Regions from separate parts of the Homo sapiens genome. Here regions 1, 2, 3, 4, 5 and 6 are each linked to region 7. The links are contacts of gene promoters, found by promoter capture Hi-C in blood cells and fetal thymus (Javierre and others, 2016). All regions are on one chromosome and are shown on one strand. Each heading gives the region's core, a stretch centred on a gene start or on the middle of the fragment in contact. The rest is flanking DNA. Distances are from core to core; before and after follow the strand shown. Region 1 overlaps TBK1 (TANK binding kinase 1). Region 2 overlaps XPOT (exportin for tRNA). Region 3 overlaps KICS2 (KICSTOR subunit 2). Region 4 overlaps PPP1R12A-AS1 (PPP1R12A antisense RNA 1). Region 5 overlaps XPOT (exportin for tRNA). Region 6 holds the start of C12orf56 (chromosome 12 open reading frame 56). Region 7 holds the start of ZFC3H1 (zinc finger C3H1-type containing).

Region 1 (2,700 bases), core at 86-2,585, 7.2 Mb after region 7:
GATCATACTACATATATATTTTTAATCCTGATTCTTCTCACATAACATCATATATAAGGTGTTCCAAGAAGATTAAAATTTTGGTAAATATCTCTTTTCATTACCACTTAACTATTGTGTGGTAAAAAATTAACTTTACCCAAAGAGAAGTCAGGCTTTGCCCTTGGCTACTGGACAGTGATCTCTGGCCCCTAAAATGTCCTATCTGAAAGAACAAGACTTCTGTCTTTGTTCCTCTGGGGGCTTTGGCCACTGGAGAGTCTCACAGCATGATTTAGGATGGGGGCTTAATGGAGACTAAAGGAATTACCCCAAACTTCTGGAAGGAGCTGGGGACTAAAGGTCAGCAATACAGGCAATAAATGATCCAGCCTCAGTAAAAACCCTGGACACCAAAGGCTTGGGTGAGCTTCCCTGACTGGCAATACTTCATGCATACTGTCATACATCAATGCTGAGAGAGTAATGTGTCCCTCAGGACAAAGAAGCTTCAAGATTGGAACCCTCCCACATTCCACGCTTTGTGTCTCTTCCTCTGGCTGGTTCTAATTTCTATCTTTTTGCTACAATAAAACTGTAATTATAAGTATAGCACTCTCCTCAGTTTTGTGAGTCATTTCTACATTCCAGCAAATTACCAAACCTGAGTGTCATGGGCAACCCCCACATTTGTAGCCGGCTGGGATGATGTGAGGGTAATCTTGTGGGAACTGTTCTCTCTGTGCAGTTTGCCAAACTCCTTTGCAATTGGTATCAAAAGTCTTGAGCAGACTTGGCAGTGTGGAAGGCTATGCTCTTAATCTTGAGTTTGGCTAATTCCAGGTAACTATCTGCCACACATTCTAATTTATTCAACTTATTTAACCATTCTTTATTATAAACAGGATGCCAATTAACATCTTCATGCATAAAATTATATTTCTGATTACTTCCTAAGAAATAATCACTAAAAATAAAATCACTCGGATAAAGAGTATAAACTACATTTTTTCCCAAAGATTTTATTGATTGCTCATGTTTAAAGGGATTAAAATAATTTCTATTTCCATTATTTCTAGATTACTTTTCCTAATGACATTCTTAATTCCACTATTTCCCCTTAAAAAAATCAATTCTTTTATAATTGGACTTCATATCTTAAACTGTAGGACTCTTGAAATTTTTATTCATGAAATACAAAATTTTTATTTTTTTAAAGTTCGATTTTTTCTTTTTATAATTATTTTTTCTCTTTATAATTATTAGATTTAACTTGTTACCTTTCTTTTTCTAGTAATAATACTGGTAACCATATTCAATACCCTTTTATTTCCTTCTTTCTTTTTTTTTTTGAGACAGGGTCTCACTCCATCACCCATGCTAGAGTACAGTGGCACAATATGGTTCACCATAGCCTTGACCTCTCAGGCTCAGGTGATCCTCCCACTTCAGCCTCCTGAGTAGCTGGAACTACAGGCGTACACCTCCATGCATGGCAAATTTTTGTATTTTTTACAGAGACAGGGTTTTGCCATGTTGCCCAGGCTGTTCTTGAATTCCTGAGCTCAAATGATCCTTTCTTTTTTTTTTTTTTTTTTTGAGATGGAGTCTCCCTCTGTTGCCAGGCTGGAGTGCAGTGGTGCGATCTCAGCTCACTGTGACCTCTGCCTCCTGGGTTCAAGCAATTCTCCTGTCTCAGCCTCCCAAGTAGCTGGAACTACAGGTGCGCACCACCATGCCAAGCTAATTTTTGTATTTTTAGTAGAGACGGGGTTTCACCACATTGGCCAGGCTGGTCTCAATCTCTTGACCGCATGATCTACCTGCCTCGGTCTCCCAAAGTGCTGGGATTATAGGTGTGAGCCACTGCACCCAGCCGCAGCCGGCCGCCCCCTTTTATTTCTTACACTACTGTTTCTGATTCCATTTTTATGATATTTTATTTCTATTGTTCTATATATTCAAGAATCCTTTAGGATAAAGTATTTGGTTGTACAAACCCTAATTTTCAACAGTTTTTTAAAAAATCCATTTTTTAATATTAGGTTCTATTTCTTGACTCGTAACTACAATAAATATAAGATTGAAGTTTTACTACTTACCTCCTCTTCAATAGCAAATAATTTGACAATATTTTTGTGATTGAGTTTTTTCAACACTTCAAATTCTCTCATTTGAACATCCACTGGACGAAGGAAGCTTATGTTATTAAATACTTTGATAGCAAATAAATCACCAGTTTTCTTTAAAAAAGAGAGAGAAATGTTTTATTTATTCATAATATTGTAAAAGAGATTAAAAGGTAGCATTAGAACTCGCTATTGCAACTTATTTTCTTACAGAACATCATGCATCTTTTAGGCACAGGGAATCTGTATGAGGACTTTTGACTTTTCTAAAAAGTTAAAATGAATCAATTAACTGCTCAACATTTCTTTCAAATTACACCTTTTGGAATTCAGAAATGGATATTTTCTTTCATATTATAAATAAACCTTTCATGAGGATACAGTAGGGGCAAAAATAGTCACACATCAGAAGATAAAAGCCATAATAGTATCAAAAGCAAAATCATCTTTTAAAGACGAAATAGAAAGTGAAACTCATAAGGGCTTCTCCAAGGCCTAATAATTTTAAACTAATCAAAGCAGGAGAGAGAGACTGAACACTATATTCCACCTATGAGATTTTTATTAAGAATATCAAAGTAATACAGTTAAC
Region 2 (2,700 bases), core at 123-2,622, 7.2 Mb after region 7:
CATCTCAAAAAAAATAAAAATAAATTTAAAAAATTTTAAAAAGCTTCTTAATCATTCCAAAAATAAAAAACAAAGTGACGTACAGATTCAAGGCAATCCGTATAAGAGTTCCAAGAGCATATTTTATAGAAATAGAAAAAACAAAACTAGAATTTACATGGAATCACAAAAGGCCCTGAATAGCCAAAACAATCCAGAGAAAGAGCAAAGCTGGATGTACCACACTTCCAGATTTCAAAATATATTTTAATATTACAGTGTGAAAACAGTATGGTACTAGCAAAAGACAGACATATATCCTAGCTACTTGGGAGGCAGAGGCAGAAGGATTCTTTGAGTCCAGGCGTTTGTAGTTGCTGTGAACTATGATGGTGCCACTGCACTTGAGTCTGGACAACAGAGTGAGACCCTCTCTCTTTTAAGACAGACATATAAACCAATGGAACAAAATAGAATTTGAAAATCAACTCCTGTATACAGTCAACTGATCTTCAACAAGGGTACTAAGAATACACAATGGGGAACAATAATCTCTCCAATAATGGTGCTGGTAAAACTGGATATCTACGTGCAAAAGAAAACGAGACCCTTATCTTACACAAAAATCAACTCAATGTATTAAAGACTTTATATGTAAGTCTCCAAACTGCAAAACTAGAAGAAAACATAGGAGAAAAGCTTCAAGATGCTGGTCTTTGAAATGATTTCATTGATATCACGAAAAGCTACATTAGTGGGGCTACATTGAATTAAGAAGCTTCTGCACCATAAAGTAAGCAATCAACAGAGCAGAAAGGCAACCTCTGGAATAGCTAAAGAATGGGAGAAAATATTTGCAAACCATTTATCTGATAAGGGGTTAATTTCTAACATATAAAAAAACTCCTCTAATTCAATAGCAAAAAACTTAATAACTTGATTAGAAAATGGGGTAAAGACTTGAATAGACTTCTCCAAATACAAATGGTTAACAGGTGTATGAAAAAACAAACATCACTAATCATAAGGGAAATGCAAATCAAAACCACAATGAGATATCACCTCACACCTGTTAGAATGGCTATTACAAAAAAATGAAAGACAGCAAGTGTTGGTGACATTGTGGAAAAACTGGAACCCTGCTACACAACTGATGGAAATGCAAAATGGTGTATAGCCACTATAGAAAATAGTAAGATGTTTCTTCAAAAAATTAAAAATAGGACTACCATATAATCCAGCAATCCCACTTCTGGGTATTTATCTAAAAGAATTGGAATCAGCATCTCAAAGACATATTAGCATTCCCATGTTAACTGTAGCACTTACAATGTGAAAATAGCCCCAATGAATCTATCAGTGGATTAATGCATAAAGAAAATGTGATATATACATACAGTGGCATGTTATTCAGCCTTAAAAAATTGCGAAATCCTGCCATATGTAACAACATGGATGAACCTAAAGGACATTGTGTGAAACAGCCAGTCACAAAAAGAGAGATAACTGCATGATTCCACTTATATTAGGTATCTAAAGTAGTCAAATTCACAGAATCAGAGAGTAGAATGGTAGTTTCTAGGAGATGGGGGCTGTGGGAAATGGGAATTGCTAATCAGTGGGTATAAAGTCTTAGTTATGCAAGATGAATATGTTCTGGAGATCCACCTATATTTTATAGGCACATCACTGTCCCTATAATTAATAATACTGTGTTGTGCACGTAAAAATTGTTAAGATGGTATATATCTCATGTAAGTGTTCTTACAATAAAATAAAAACACTATTGATGAAGAAACAAATTTTGGAATCTACATAAGAGATTGTAATTCTAGTTTTAATCAAGTTTGATACTTCATTAACTCCATGTACTACTGGACAAGAAATCTGGAAAATTATATGCCAAGAAACAATATTATACAAATGACTTCTTAAAAGTATAAGGTAACTTTCCAGACACTTTCCTTAAAATAGTTTCAGATTTACAGATTAAGCATTGATAAGCTTGGTGTACACACAATGAACTACCTGGTACAAAGCTTCAGAACTCTGCTGTGGTCCCCTTCAGCAGTCTGGAAAAGCCTATTAGGCTCCTTTAGAATGTTTTTTTAAAAAAATGCATAAAACATAATACATGGGATTACGATAGAAGCCAATTATACTGAATAATGGTTATCAAACTAAAGTATGCTAGAACAGTAAGGACTTATTAACTTGTTGGGTAACAAGGTGTAGTGATATTACTTAGTAACTCATAATTTCAAAATGGTGATAAGCATAAACAGTATTTTGAGATGCTGGCAACAACTTATGTAATATGAAAATATTTTTGATTTCTGCTAGCGACAATGTCACAGGCAATGCTGCTACTACTGTGATCTCTCGCCTACACAATGGTAAGAAATAGCTCTTACCTGAATTATTTCTGGAGCTACTTGCAAGGAGGGCAGGTATTCTTGTTGAAGATACTGAACACATTCTGGGCCCTGAAGATTAAAAGATACTTACAACTATTTTCTTGCTTGACATTAATAAGCTTAAAAAGAATCGGAACAATACATGTACACTTTAAAGGCAATATAGTATTGTGCTTAAGAACACAGACCCGAGAGCCAGACTGCCTTGGTTTGAAGCCTGGCTCTGGCACCTTCTTTAAAATTATACTTTAAGTTCTGGGTTACATGTGCAGAACATGCAGTTTTGTTACATAGGTATACATGT
Region 3 (2,700 bases), core at 1-2,500, 7.4 Mb after region 7:
GCTCGGATGGAGATAGCAGACTTCTATGAGAAGATGTACACCCTCAGCACACAGAAGTTCATCAATGCTGAAGAGCTCGTTGGCCTTTTGGATGCCATCATGAAAAAATACAGCTCCAGGTCAGTGTGGGGAGGAGGGAGGGAGAAAGCGTGGCTGTCCTATCAATCCCACACAAGCTCAGAGTTTTTCTCCACACTCTTATGAAAATCTGTGATGAAATAACTGTGAAATAAATAACTGGATTACATTTTATACATATTCATTAATCAACAGGTATACATTAGGCACCTTCATTGGTCTTATTAACACCACACGGCTGCTAAGCAATAGCAAAAGACCGAGAATGAAGTAATCGTAAAACTTGTATTATAACCGATTTTGCTGCTTAGGAAAGAGTTCACACAACAAGAGAATTGTATATAAAATAATAGGAATTTCTTTTTTCTGGAAACCAAATTGTAACATAGTAAAATAATATGAAAATACGTATTATTGTATTTTCTGTTGCCCAGGCTGGAGTGCAGTAGCATGATCTCAGCTCACTGCAACCTCCACCTCCTGGGTTCAAGCAATTCTCCTGCCTCAGCCTCCTGAGTAGCTGGGATTATAGGTACACGCCACACCCAGCTAATTTTTGTATTTTTTTTTTTTTTAGTAGAGACGGGGTCTCACCATATTGGCCGGGCTGGTCTTGAACTCCTGACCTCAAGTGATCCACCCGTCTTCACCTCCCAAAGTGCTGGGATTACAGGCCTGAGCCAATGCACCTGGCTGAAAATAATGTGAATTTTTAACAAATTATTATTCAAATAAATATTGTCCCTTTTAAAGTAATCAGTGATTTATCTGCTTGTTCCTTTGAACAAGCCATTCTTTAACATGTGTTGGAAACTCCTTTGTAATTGCTTTTAGAGTTTCTGCCATACAGTTTAGATTTCATTTTAAGTATTCTTAGTGGAGGAGGGCATCCACTAAGTGCCTGTAATCTCCTGGGTTCAAGTGATTTTCCTGCCTCAGCCTCCTGCGTAGCTGAGATTACAGGCACATGCCACTATGCCTGGCTAATTTTTTTTGTATTTTTAGTAGAGATGGGGTTTCATCATGTTGGTCAGGCTGGTCTCGAACTCCTGACCTTGTGATCTCCCTGTCTTGGCCTCCCAAAGTGCTGGGATTACAGGTATGAGCCACCATGCCCAGCCGAGTTGAGCTTTTAACGGCAGGTAGGATTTCGAAAGCAACTGTAGGAAAGAAGACGGCAGGTGTTTTGAGATGAGAGGATATTTCAGAATACAAAAAGGCTTCAGGGTTTTGGTACTTGCAATTCTTTCTCTCTTATAAGTTCTTACTGTAGTTATCTTCTCATCTTTAAGTCTTGGTTCAAACAGAGAAGGCTTCTCTCACTATCCTACCAAAACTATTCTGCTTTTAGTCACTATCTTATTCTCCTGATTTATTGCCATCTGAAGTTACTGTTGTTTGTTTAGGGTGTTTTTTCTTTCCTTTTCTCAAAAACTAGAATGTGAGCTCCATCACAGCTGCTGTGCTTTTAGCACCTGGAACAGAACCTAGCACATAGTAGATGCTGAATAGATGTTTGCTGAATAAATGAGTGAATAGTTGTGTTCCAGGTTGAAAATTTGTACTTAATTTGGTAAGCAGTGGGGAACCATGAAAAGTTTTGAACCAGGAGTATCATGTTCTCATCTTAGACTAATTACTGTGGCACTGTGTGTGCAATGGGATGGTGAAGGGAGAGGTTACAGGAGAAAAGGTTAGTTTAGCAGGCTATGATGGTAGCCTAATAGGCAGAAGGAGGGCCTCATGGTTGCAAGACAGTGGGATAGGAGATGCTGACAAGAAGTCTATAAGTCTTGTCAACAGGATGGCAGGAATAATGAGAGGTTGCTGTCAAAGATGATACTTAGGTTTTGCCCCTCTAATGATAATATTGTTTACAGAATTGAAAAGACAAGAGGGACTGAAGAGGAACTGGTTTAGAAGGAAGGTAGTAAGCTAAAATTGGGGCAAGTTGAGTGTGAGTTGCTAGCAGATTTTCGAGTAAAGATTTAGCAGGCATTTGGAAATGGGGGTCTAGAGTTCAGACGAAAGGCCAGAAATAAAACAACTTGGAAGTAGACTCATACAGTTTTATGGTTTAAAAACTAAAATGTCATTGTTCTTTAATAAAACAGCAATTGATTTTTCACCTTGTAGGAAAAGGGGGGGAGGTGGAAATATTTATATATACCTATTCTGAAGGAAATTAGCATGTATTGAGCAACTACTGTGTGCCAGACACTATGCAAGACCCTCTTCTTGGTTACCTGGTTTGAAGTACAGGTATAAATAGTGCACCTTTTATAGAGTCCCAGAGAAGTGGAACACTTTGCTTAGAGTCATACAGCTTAGCTCTGTGACTTCAGAGCCCATATTCTTTTGTGTATGCATCATTGCTTGTTATTAAAAATTGAGATGTTTTTTATCTAGTCCAGATAAATAATTTCTCTTTGCTGATCATTTTGTAAGTCAATAAATTAGTTCTTCAGAAGACCTAGGAAGCATTTACTACATCCTCTTGCTAGGAATACGAGTTGTGTGCTACCTACAACCACATACATACATAGTCTTTCTGAGCATAAGATGGTTGGGTAAAAATTATTATGTTACTATTCTTTCTTTCTTTTTCTTTTCTTTTTTTTT
Region 4 (2,756 bases), core at 116-2,615, 8.3 Mb before region 7:
ATGTAAGCTCATTGATGGCAGGTACTTCATTTGTTTCATTTGCTCCTGTGACCCCAGAACCCAGAATAATGATTCACAAAGAATAGGTGCCAATCAATACATTTTCAATGACTGACCTCGGATCCACCAAACTGCTACATTTCAGCCATGTTTGTGGCACAGCTATGTTTGGCTACTGGGAGTCCCAGGCTTATGTTCCAGCCTCCATGAAGCAGCCATTCATTTTGAGATCCTGTCACATTCTGGCTACTTCCAGAGATCTGTGAGCAAATCCCTGCTGTTCAAGAGACCAACAGACTTCTCTCTCATTCTTTTGAGCCTTGGTGTCACTTATTATTCTCAGTGAAATCCTTCTTTCCCATGGAAGCACCCAAAGATGGCTTGGGTGAACCCCTCTGCTTGGTTCCACCCTAAGTAAAAATAACATTCCATGGAGTTATGGTGAAAATTTTTGTAAAGTGAAAATAAAGGCAAATTTAGAAAACAGTGCTATTTTTATTGATTTATAATGCTATGCAAATAGAACTTAAATAAGTTTCTAGCAACCTCATATACTAATTCCAATCAGATCACTAGCCCTAAATTCTTATTAAATAGAAATTGGTGGGTGGACATTTCAAGTAGGAGGGAAAATGTTTTGAAAGCAACTTCTGCTTTCTTCCTTGCCACAAACCTGTCCTGAGGCAAGGAAGCAGAGTTGCTATCAGCTTAAATAAGGGAAGGAAAAGGCAAATACAAGAACACAAATAAAATCTCAAATTTTTTTCTCTCTCACATACATTATTCATTTAATCTTTAAGACAACCACATGAAGTTGATATTCCCACCTGTCAAAATTGAGCACGGTCAGCATGTTTTGGTTCTCATGAATACCTTGTTTTTGCACTCTGGTCTGTGAAGGAATTTTAAAGCTTTTCCTAGGATTTGATTTGAAGGACAATTGAATGGATCCCTCAACTAAATATTAGTGATCCAAGATAGAACTCATGCACCTAAACTTGCCTTCCAGATATTGATCTTGTAATTTATTCTTCTAATTTCAGTGCCATGGAGAATGACTCTTATTTCTGAAATTCCTTCAGCACACAGATATTTTCATACAAATTGGCCTTCCTGCCAATGCCTTGCCTTGACACCTTGAGTTGGGGGTGCCACTAAGGCCTATCCTATAACCTTCACTTAATTAATCGTAATTATTATTACACATACTAATTAAAGTCAGTCAGTTTCCTAAAGTGTAGGACATGTAGACTGGTGGTACATGAGGTAATGTTATAAGGTAGATGTAACATTAAAACAACAGTGAAGCACTTAGCACAATATTCTTTTTTCACTACCTTTTAATCTTTCCGATTATGCTAAACTGAAAAATCTTAGGTTGATGCTCACATGTCCAACCCTTACCAATATCCCTTTTTTAACAAATTGAGAGCACAGCTTGGGCTCAGACCCTTGACAGACAACCTAACTAATGTTTTGTTTTCATTGTATTTGCTTTAACAGTCTTCTTTATGTCAAGTGGAAACGTTTTTCACTTACCAAAGCAACATAATGTTGCTTTAAAATAAATTTGTCTTAAAAAGGTTAAAGAAAACATTAAGCAAATACTAGTATTTGCGGTTCTTGAATTTGGCAATAAAACTGATAAAGTTTGGGAAACATTAATTCATATGAAAGGGGCATGTGATGTTCTGTCACATGATACAGGTTGGGAGTCATGTGCAATGGAGGTGAGTTATCTCTTTAGCAGTATAACTGCACTTTGGATTGTTGCCAGACACTCATCTGAGTCCTAGTTTTGGGGAACAAAAGAAGCTTTATGAGCATATTAGCCAGTACTTGTACTGTGATAGGGTTAGTTTCTTGAAATGGAGTCAGATGTGGCAGAAAATTTACCCTAAAGTAAATTAGAAACTCACCTTGTAATCCAGAGGCAAGGCAAAGATTAGATGCTATGATCTAGAAATCAGGATTGATCTAGCAATGGAGTCTGAAGCAAGTTAGGGTGGTTCCATGTTGGTTCTGGTCAACTCCCTGGGTAGGACTAAATAAATTATGATGTGAATGGATTGTAAACTTTTCTTCAAGTTCTTTTTTTTTTTCTTTTTGAGACAGAGTCTTGCTCTGTCACCCAGGCTGGAATGCAGTGGCACAATCTTGGCTCACTGCAACCTCCGCCTTCTGGTTCAAGTAATTCTCATGTATTCTCGGGTTCAGCCTCCCGAGTAGCTGAGATTACAGGCACGTGCCACCACGCCCAGCTAATTTTTGTATTTTTAGTAGAGACGGGGGTTTTGCCATGTTGGCCAGGCTGGTCTCGAACTACTAACCTCAGGTGATCTGCCCACGTGGGCCTCCCAAAGCCCTGGGATTACAGGCATGAGCCACCGTGCCCAGCCTTTTCTTCAGGTTCTTAAATAAAACATTGGAAAGAAATTATTATGCAATGGAAGAGAGTTTGGCCCAGGTGTAGAATACAGGAGACAGAAACAAGGTCCTTGTTGACTGTTCTATTCTCAAGTGTATAAATGTAAATTAGTATCTCAGGTTTAAATTAGGGATAAAGAGAACATAGATATATCAAAGTATTTATTAATATCTTATGTACATTTTTAACAAAGAGATTATAATAGCAGAAACAAATCTAAGCTGTGCATGTCAGCATTTCAAATATGTTTATAATTTAAATTAAGTTGATCATAATTAGCAAGCAAATTAATGGTAAGGAATGTCAGTAGTGTGATTAAACTTTGAAA
Region 5 (2,700 bases), core at 82-2,581, 7.3 Mb after region 7:
TTAATAAGGTATAGAAAGTAATCATTTTCTACTTTAAATAGTAGAAGTACCTAATTTATGCAGTGTTTTACTTATCTCTAGTACTTAAAAATGCAATTGTGCAACTGCAGTTAAGTATAAAAATGACAAATGCAGACTATTACAGTAATTATAATAATTTGTCTACTTCCAGATACAAATATCACAAACCTTCTTTAAAACATTAGAATGGCTGACCTCAGAGTTCAATATCCTTTGGAGTGTTTACTAAGTACTATGACAGAAGTCTAATGAAAGGAACAGGATAATGAAAAACCAGTCATTTAGCTTTTGAGCAATGGACTTAGTTTTGCATTTTACAGATCTCTGCTCTTGCCAGCCAATTCTAAAAATTTCAAAAAAAAAAAAGTTTTTCAATAGTAGATACAAAAACCCACAAACCAGCCAGCTACAGTGGCTCACACCGGTAATCTGAGAACTTTGGGAGGCTGAGGTGCGCAGATCACTTAAGGTCAGGAGTTCAAGCCAGCCTGACCAATACGGTGAAACCCTGTTTCTACTAAAAAGACAAAAATCAGCCAGGCTTGGTGGCACATGCCAGTAATCCCAGCTACTCGGGTGACTGAGGCACAAGAATCGCTTGAACCCAGGAGGCAGAGGTTGTAGTGAGCCAAGATTGCGCCACTGCACTCCAGCCTGGAGAACAGAGTGAGATTCCATCTCAAAAAAAACAAAACACACAAAAAAAAATCCACAAATGACTTAACACTGACTACTCTTATTTAAGGATTTTTTTTAATCTCTGAGAGGTAATCCACTTCTTCACAATATAGGTTCCAACATTCTCAAATAATAAGCTGCAAAAGGCATCCTAGTTTTTGATAGAATGCATATTCATTTGAGCAAACATGGAACAAACTCTAAATGATGTGAAAAATGATATTATTCTCTCAAGACCTATAAGGTAGGGAGACCAAGTCTTACTACTTCCATTAAACGCTGTGGGGGGCCAGGCGTGCTGGCTCATGCCTGTAATCCCAGCACTTTGGGAGGCCGAGGCAGGTGGATCACTTGAGGTCAGGAGTTCAAGACCAGCCTGGCCAACATGGTAAAATCCCCTACTAAAAATACAAAAAAATTAGTGGAGCATGGTGGCACACACCTGTAATCCCAGCTACTTGGGAGGCTGAGGCAGGAGAATCGCTTGAACCCAGGAGGTGGAGGTTGCAGTGAGCTGGGATCACGCCACTGCACTCCAGCCTGGGTGACAGAACGAGACTCTGTCTCAAAAAAAACAAAAAAAGGCTGTGGGGCTTTTTGTTTCAATTACCGTTAACCAAAGACGCCAAAAAACTAATTGGATTGGGGGTAGGGGAGAAAAGCCTTTTGGGAATAGCAGGGGTAGGGGAGAAAGGCCTTTTGGGAATAGCAAAACCAGGCTCAGGTCCAGGTTACAGGATACCTACAATAGGCTTTTCTGTTTTCCTCTGAGCCTGCCTGAATCAAATAACTCAGGATATGGACTGAGAGCTTTGAAGACAGCTCAGCCCTTTCTCTTATGGTTCATAACGTACTTGCAGACTTCAAGGCAGTGTAACTCCCTACTGCCCTCAGATTACGATCCAAACACTTTTGAATAACTCCTCACTATTCTGCACACCAGGTCAGCAAGGCCAGTGCTAGTGAACCATATGGCAGTTCTCCAGTGGTATTCTACCTTTCATCTTTGCACACTGCTCTTTCTTCTTGTTAGTAGGTTAACCCCTGCTGTCCTTTGAAATTCAACTTAGAAGCCATCTCTTTCAAGAACACTTCTTTGACCTCTATTGTCCAACTCTCCCAAATTGGATTACATGCCCCATCCTAAGCACTGCTATGCTGTCACTGCCAGCTTACTAGTTTTCTCTCATTAATCTTTTTTTTTTTTTTTTGAGACAGTCTCACTCTGTTGCCCAGGGTGGAGTGCAGTGACATGATCTCGGCTCACTGCAGCCTCTGGCTCCTGGGTTCAAGTGATTCTTCTGCCTCAGCCTCCCAAATAGCTGAGATTACAGGGGTGAGCCACCACACCCGGCTAATTTTTGTATTTTTTAGTAGAGATGGGGTTTCACCATGTTGCCCAGGCTGGTCTCGAACCCCTAATCTCAGGTGATCTGCCAGACTCGGCCTCCCAAAGTGCTGGGATTACAGGTGTGAGCCACCCGGCCATTTCTCACAATCTTAAAGGGCAAGGACTGTCTTGACTATCCATCACTATGTCCCTAGGACATAGTAGAGCATAGGTTTTGGATTTCAAAGACCTGGGTTTGTATCCCCATCTTGTCATTTTTTAATTGGGGCCACTTGGACAACTTACAAAACCTGAGAGAACCCTTTCTATGACATGGGAAAAAGACCATATGCCTCATAAAGTTGTAAAGGCTTCAAAGAGATAAGGTATGCAGAGCATGGCTGGCACATAGTGAGCCCTCAATACGTTGTTTATAGTCAGAGGTAGGAACATGTGGAATGGAAACGACTTGGGGCATTCTTATACCAGATCAGCATTTTTAAAAGACAGAAAAACACAAAGAAAGGCACTGGTTCCCTTCGCCCCCTAAATGTTAAGAAAATCTGATGTCCATTCCCCTGAAAAATGCCCACAGAGAGAAAAAACGATTTCGGAGTTTCTAAGAATCCCTGATTGAGAAGTCCAATAAAAGCTTCCTTGAATTTGCTATG
Region 6 (2,700 bases), core at 144-2,643, 7.3 Mb after region 7:
GGCTGCAGTGAGCCGATATCATGCCACTGCACTCCAGCCTGGGTGACAGAGGGAGACTCTGTCTCAAAAAAAAAAAAAAAAAAAAAGTTTAGCCAGACCAAAACATTTCTCTTTCCCTTTGTACTAGTGTAGTCTACAATATCTGTTTATGGATTGTAATATATTTATACCTTCTTTCCACAAGGGATTTGAAGTTGCTTATAACATACAGTATACAATAATAAAATATGTAGAAAGGGAGAATATAAAGAATATATCAAATTTGATTCAGGGTTGCTGGCAGCCACAGCAATGAACGATATGGTTTCATTATCAGGTTTTTGGGTCAATGGGGAGGGGAAGAGAATAACTTTTCTAGGATTCGAAATAAAAAATGGAACTTCTGACTTAGAGCATTTCTGTTGTGCCCTTCTCATTTCTCTAACCTAATTAGTAAGTTATTCTTGGCCTGTAAAAACTAAGGAATACTTACTCCTCTGCAGCCTCAGGGTATGTAATCCGCATTCTTCAGTCTATCAGCTTCAACTTTTCAAGATGCCAGCATCACCCATTCATTCTTCCTGCATAGATTGTCCTGGGCATTGGAAACAAAACCATATGCCTTAGGTTGGTTTGGGTGTGCTCACATCAATTCATGTGAAGAATCCCTTTCTCAAAGGCTGGGCGAGGTGACTTAACGCCTGTAATCCCAGCACTTTGGGAGGCCGAGGCGGGCGGATTACCTGAGGTCGGGAGTTGGAGATCAGCTTGACCAACATGGAGAAACCCCGTTTTTACTAAAATATACAAAATTAGCTGGGCGTGGTGGCGCATGCCTGTAATTCCAGCTACTCAGGAGGCTGAGGTAGGAGAATCGCTTGAACCCGGGAGGGGGAGGTTGCGGTGAGCCGAGATGGCGCCATTGCACTCCAGCCTGGGCAACAAGAGCAAAGCTGCGTCTCAAAAAAAAAAAGAGAAAAGAAAAAAAAAATCCCTTTCTCACTGGTTGGAGAAAGAAGACCTATGTTTACACTCCGACAATATCAGAAAGCTGTGCCAGGCCATGTTATAACCAAAAGCTAAATCTGTGTGATTGGGTTTAATAGGTTTCTAGGGTTGTTAAAAATAAATCGGTAAATTAAACTCTTTCAAGTTTCTAACAGGAAACCAGATTGAAGCTGGCTTCCATTACCAATAAAGTTTGTATTGGATGGTGTGATCCGCAACAGAGTACGCAGTGGTGGGGACTGGCATTAGGGGTGGGCGGGAGAGACCCTAAAAATCCACCGCCCTTCGGCCGCAGGGGACTTCACGGTGATGAGCCCGAGGTGCCCATCAACTCGGGCCTGAAGGACCAGCGTCTTGCCCCGCCCATCGCCGTCTGAGGTTAGGACAAAGATCGAGAGGCTGGACAGGGCTGGGGAGGGCGCTCCAGGGAAGCCGACCTAGCGTCGATTCCTGCAGTTGCGGCCCGGGTCCCCGCGCCTGGAGAGGAGGCGACGCGTGGCCGGCGGCTTTGTGGCGCGCGGGTTCCAGCGCGGGGGCGGGGAGAGGGCGAGCTGAGGGCCTCGAGTCCCAGCACTCCGCCACGCTGCGGGCGCCGGGCATGGCCAGCCCCTTGCCGTCCGGCTTCCCCGCGCGCAGGAACAGCCGCCTGGATGTGTTCCTGCGGCGGCATCTGCCGCCCGAGGTCTACGACGCGGTCCGCGCCTACGAGCCATGCATCGTGGTGTCCAACTCTGAGAACCACATCCTCAAGTATGTGGTGCTAAGCGACCGGCTCGTCTACCTAACCGAGAACCCGCCCAAGTCCATCCGGCGGGTAGTGGCTCTGCGGGACGTCGTGGCCATTGACCTGGTGAGCGGCGCGGGTGGGCAGGCGGGCTCGGGAGCGCAGTGAGAACTCCCGGCTGGGGCCCCCAAACCCAGCCCTCCTGCGCGGGGAGGGCTGCCCCATCCTGCCCTCGACTCCCCTCCTCTTATTTGAGAACGAGGAACACAGGGAAGCTGTGGATTGCTGTGAGCACTCCTAATACAAACACGTCTCCCATTCTCCTCGTGTCTGCCTGTTCACCCATTCTCCCGCCTCCCCTACCCCACGTAGGGCTACAGGTTTGAGAACCGAGCTCCCTATCAAAAATACCTTTTAAAGTCATTCCTTTGTTAACAAAGCACCTAGTCAGTGCCAGGCACTGTGCTAGACTCGGAGGATGCAAAAACGAAAGAGGGCCCCTACCTAGAAGCAGTCGCTGGAGGGCTAGAAAGCCAACACCCGTGCAAATAAATGCTGTGTGTTAAGTGCTGTTATATCTCATTTACTTTTTTGCCCCCGATGCTTAGAGCATGTTAGATGCTCAATAAGAATAAATGCATAAGGCCGGGTGCCGTGGATCACGCCTATAATCCTTACACTTTGGGAGGCCAAGGTGGATAGATCACCGGGGGTCAGGGGTTCGAGACCAGGCTGGCCAACATGGTGAAACGCCGTCTCCACCAAAAGTACAAAAATTACCCAGGCGTGGTCGTGTGCACCTGTAATCCCAACTACTTGGGAGGCTGAGGCACAAGAATCGCTTGAACCTGGGAGGCGGAGGTTGCCGTGAGCCGAGATCGCCCCACCTGCACTCCAGCCTGAGCTACAGAATGAGTGAGACACCGTTCCCCTCCACCCCCTCCCCAGCAAAAGAATAAATGCATGAATAAGCAGATGCGTTAATGAGA
Region 7 (2,700 bases), core at 191-2,690:
TTTTCTTCGGGCACGTGGCAGGCACTTGCAGAGAAGGTAAACATTTACAGAGTACCTGTTATTTTCCAGGCATTGTTCAAAGTGCTTTCAAGAGTTCTGGTTTGACAGAACTAAAGAATTTTGATTTTTCTTCCAGCAAACAAAAGAAAACCTAGGTTCTTTTTATTACTCTATTCTAGTAAGAACAGAAAGGTTATCTTTTGCACTTTAATTAACATCGCTTAATTCCATGGCTATCAAAGATGACTCAATTCCTCCGCAGAATTACTATGTGACTATTAGAAATCTAAATGCCTCCCATGTCAATTCATCTAGTGAGAATTTCCTAATTTTAACGGGAACACAGCAGGCTTTTACGGTGATTGCTGATTGGGAAGATCTCTTTCTCCCTTACGGCGTCATTCATGTCAAGGCCCGGTCTAACAGAGGAATAAAACAGTAGAAAATTACGATATCCTCCTGTTACTTTTTTTTACTAAGGGGTAATGACCAAACAGTACTTGGATTTCTTTTAGAAAATGAGTAAAGCTTCCCCGAAAGCAGAGAACAATTGGGCAGATTTGAGAAACACAAAGGACATACGATGCTTCCCTGCTACCAGCTGGGAAAGTTATTAGAATTAGCAGAATCCTCCTGTTCCTTCCACACAAGCGATAGCCACAATAGGAACTCCAGTTTCCGTCACCCCCACTCCCTGCCCAGGTTACCTGTGGAAGCTGATGTTAATGTGCTTGTTGTAGGTAGTGGCACAGCCCGCCGCAGCGCAATTGGTCGGCATTTCCCTTTCCCACTCATTCAGCGCCCTTAGGTCTCTACTGAGGCGCTGGCTGCTAAGCTTTCTTCTGGCAGAGGCTGGACAATCGAGGCAGGCGTGCCTTAATCGTGAGAGCTTAGTCGTGAGAGCGGAGTGGGAAGAAGGGGTGTGTATGTGGGGGCGGAGGCGAAGGACGGTCAGCCTTCCCTTTCTCTTTATTAATATGGCCGACTAGAGCCCACAGAACTGGCCCTCCTGGAGCTCTAGTCGCCTTCGCTTGACTTCACCAACATGGCGGACACAACCCGTTCTTTCTCCCCGCCCCCAAGAGGGAGCGGATCTACTGCGTTTCTTTGGCAGCGGTCCTCAGAGCAATTAAAAGGAAGAGGTGTTTTCCCCTCCGATTACTATAAATTACAAGAGTTTTACAATAAAACTCTCTCAAGGCTGCAACAGCAGCTCCACCTACTTCTGCATGCACCCAACTGTACCAAGCCAGACCCTGCGGTGGGTGTGACCCTAGGACCGGAAGAGTAAACCCGAAGAAAGACGAAAGACTACAAATCCTAGTGAGTATCGAGTTGGTCTTATTATCGCGTGAACTGGGAGCCTTTGTTTCCTGCGTGTCGCAGGAAGTGACGTTTCGGGTACAGCCGCTACCAGAGTCCCTTTCTCGCGAGGCGGAAGAACCCCGATCGCTGAGGAGCAAGGGGGCGCTAGGAAAGGGAACTGGGTTGCGACGGTCCGGCGAGAGAGAGCTGGGGTGCTGGGGTGCGGGGAAGTTGGGGAGCAGAGGCCGCTTGGTGTCCGAGTAGGGTAAGACCGCACCGACCCAGTCCGTTAGGAAAGAAGGGAAACGAGGCAATTGTCGGGCGGATCCCCGGACGGAGGGCTAAGGTTGTGTGGAAGGCGCTGCTCCCCGGATGGCGACCGCAGATACTCCGGCCCCGGCCTCCAGTGGCCTCTCGCCGAAGGAAGAAGGGGAGCTTGAAGATGGGGAAATCAGTGACGACGATAATAACAGCCAGATACGGAGTCGGAGCAGCAGCAGCAGCAGCGGCGGCGGGCTGTTACCCTATCCGCGGCGAAGGCCTCCTCACTCGGCCCGGGGCGGTGGATCTGGCGGAGGCGGTGGCTCTTCCTCGTCATCGTCCTCTTCTCAGCAGCAGCTGAGGAATTTCTCACGCTCGCGGCACGCGTCTGAGCGGGGCCACCTCAGGGGACCCAGCAGCTACCGACCCAAAGAACCGTTCCGGTCTCATCCGCCTTCTGTACGGATGCCTTCGAGCTCACTGTCCGAAAGCAGTCCCCGGCCGTCTTTCTGGGAGCGGAGCCACCTCGCCTTGGACCGTTTCCGCTTTCGAGGCAGGCCTTACCGGGGTGGGAGTCGCTGGAGTCGGGGGCGAGGAGTGGGTGAGCGAGGAGGCAAGCCGGGGTGCAGACCTCCTCTGGGAGGAGGAGCAGGATCCGGGTTCAGCAGCAGTCAGAGCTGGCGAGAGCCCTCTCCACCTCGGAAGAGCTGTATCCTTAACGTGGCGGTCGGCGCTGGGTGTGTCACTAAAGTTCCCTTTAGCGTCATTACTAGGTCTGTGAGACGAGTGTAACTTTGAATCATCAGAACCGCTTATTTCTCCCTGTGTCAGTATACTTTAAGTTGTTCTTTGGTAATTCCCCATGTGTCACACTATAGCGTTATTCTTAAGACTGCTTCATTGGGTATATTAACGTGCTGTGGATTGGGTTAAGCTTATGAAATCTAAGACAGTTAAGTCTGATTTGTAATAATACCTTAGAAGCCCAAGTTTCATTAGCATTTGTATTTTTGCTGGTACAGAAACTTTGTGTTTTATATGAAGTTGACTTGGATTGTTAGAGAAAAAATATTCATAAACAGTTTAAGTAATATTGTTGCTTTATCATATTGCAGTTTGACGTTGAAAATTGTA

What was found. Contacts are between HindIII fragments. The CHiCAGO score rates a contact against its expected background, and 5 or more counts as called.
Region 1: a fragment that was not itself captured here is called in contact with the fragment with the promoter of ZFC3H1 in region 7 in 8 of 17 cell types (activated CD4 T cells, naive CD8 T cells, non-activated CD4 T cells and 5 more); the score reaches 20.9 in activated CD4 T cells.
Region 2: a contact is called between a fragment that was not itself captured here and the fragment with the promoter of ZFC3H1 in region 7, in 4 of 17 cell types (activated CD4 T cells, non-activated CD4 T cells, total CD8 T cells and 1 more). The highest score is 8.9, in activated CD4 T cells.
Region 3: a contact is called between a fragment that was not itself captured here and the fragment with the promoter of ZFC3H1 in region 7, in 2 of 17 cell types (non-activated CD4 T cells and total CD4 T cells). The highest score is 12.3, in non-activated CD4 T cells.
Region 4: a contact is called between a fragment that was not itself captured here and the fragment with the promoter of ZFC3H1 in region 7, in 4 of 17 cell types (total CD8 T cells, M0 macrophages, fetal thymus and 1 more). The highest score is 11.1, in total CD8 T cells.
Region 5: a fragment that was not itself captured here is called in contact with the fragment with the promoter of ZFC3H1 in region 7 in 12 of 17 cell types (activated CD4 T cells, total CD8 T cells, naive CD8 T cells and 9 more); the score reaches 20.9 in activated CD4 T cells.
Region 6: the fragment with the promoter of C12orf56 here is called in contact with the fragment with the promoter of ZFC3H1 in region 7 in 5 of 17 cell types (naive CD8 T cells, activated CD4 T cells, total CD4 T cells and 2 more); the score reaches 11.8 in naive CD8 T cells.

Annotation. Positions count from the first base shown.
Region 1 is chr12:64,459,711-64,462,410 of GRCh38, reverse strand. It overlaps TBK1 (TANK binding kinase 1), which reads right to left. Exons shown (of 21, transcript NM_013254.4): 3 at 2,082-2,222. Among named protein-coding and RNA genes, the nearest start is that of TBK1, 8.9 kb to the right of the region's middle. The HindIII fragment of the contact is 1,690 bases long and covers 491-2,180 here.
Region 2 is chr12:64,439,009-64,441,708 of GRCh38, reverse strand. XPOT (exportin for tRNA) reads right to left here. Exons shown (of 25, transcript NM_007235.6): 23 at 2,394-2,465. Among named protein-coding and RNA genes, the nearest start is that of TBK1, 12 kb to the left of the region's middle. The HindIII fragment of the contact is 1,226 bases long and covers 760-1,985 here.
Region 3 is chr12:64,213,097-64,215,796 of GRCh38, reverse strand. It overlaps KICS2 (KICSTOR subunit 2), which reads left to right. Exons shown (of 3, transcript NM_152440.5): 2 at 1-119. Among named protein-coding and RNA genes, the nearest start is that of KICS2, 7.8 kb to the left of the region's middle. RefSeq lists a silencer at 397-594. The HindIII fragment of the contact is 6,969 bases long and covers 1-2,700 here.
Region 4 is chr12:79,938,016-79,940,771 of GRCh38, reverse strand. It overlaps PPP1R12A-AS1 (PPP1R12A antisense RNA 1), which reads right to left. Exons shown (of 2, transcript NR_146535.1): 2 at 1-410. Among named protein-coding and RNA genes, the nearest start is that of PPP1R12A-AS1, 4.1 kb to the right of the region's middle. The HindIII fragment of the contact is 904 bases long and covers 914-1,817 here.
Region 5 is chr12:64,406,694-64,409,393 of GRCh38, reverse strand. The region is part of intron 1 of XPOT (exportin for tRNA); the gene reads right to left. Among named protein-coding and RNA genes, the nearest start is that of XPOT, 3.7 kb to the right of the region's middle. The HindIII fragment of the contact is 2,704 bases long and covers 1-2,683 here.
Region 6 is chr12:64,389,451-64,392,150 of GRCh38, reverse strand. It overlaps C12orf56 (chromosome 12 open reading frame 56), which reads left to right and starts at 1,393. Exons shown (of 13, transcript NM_001170633.2): 1 at 1,393-1,837. The coding sequence starts at 1,586. The HindIII fragment of the contact is 6,871 bases long and covers 1-2,700 here.
Region 7 is chr12:71,662,588-71,665,287 of GRCh38, reverse strand. ZFC3H1 (zinc finger C3H1-type containing) reads left to right here and starts at 1,440. Exons shown (of 35, transcript NM_144982.5): 1 at 1,440-2,275. The coding sequence starts at 1,678. THAP2 (THAP domain containing 2) reads right to left here and starts at 987. Exons shown (of 3, transcript NM_031435.4): 1 at 708-987. The coding sequence starts at 778. RefSeq lists enhancers at 978-1,337, 787-1,345, 1,698-1,817. The HindIII fragment of the contact is 1,665 bases long and covers 838-2,502 here.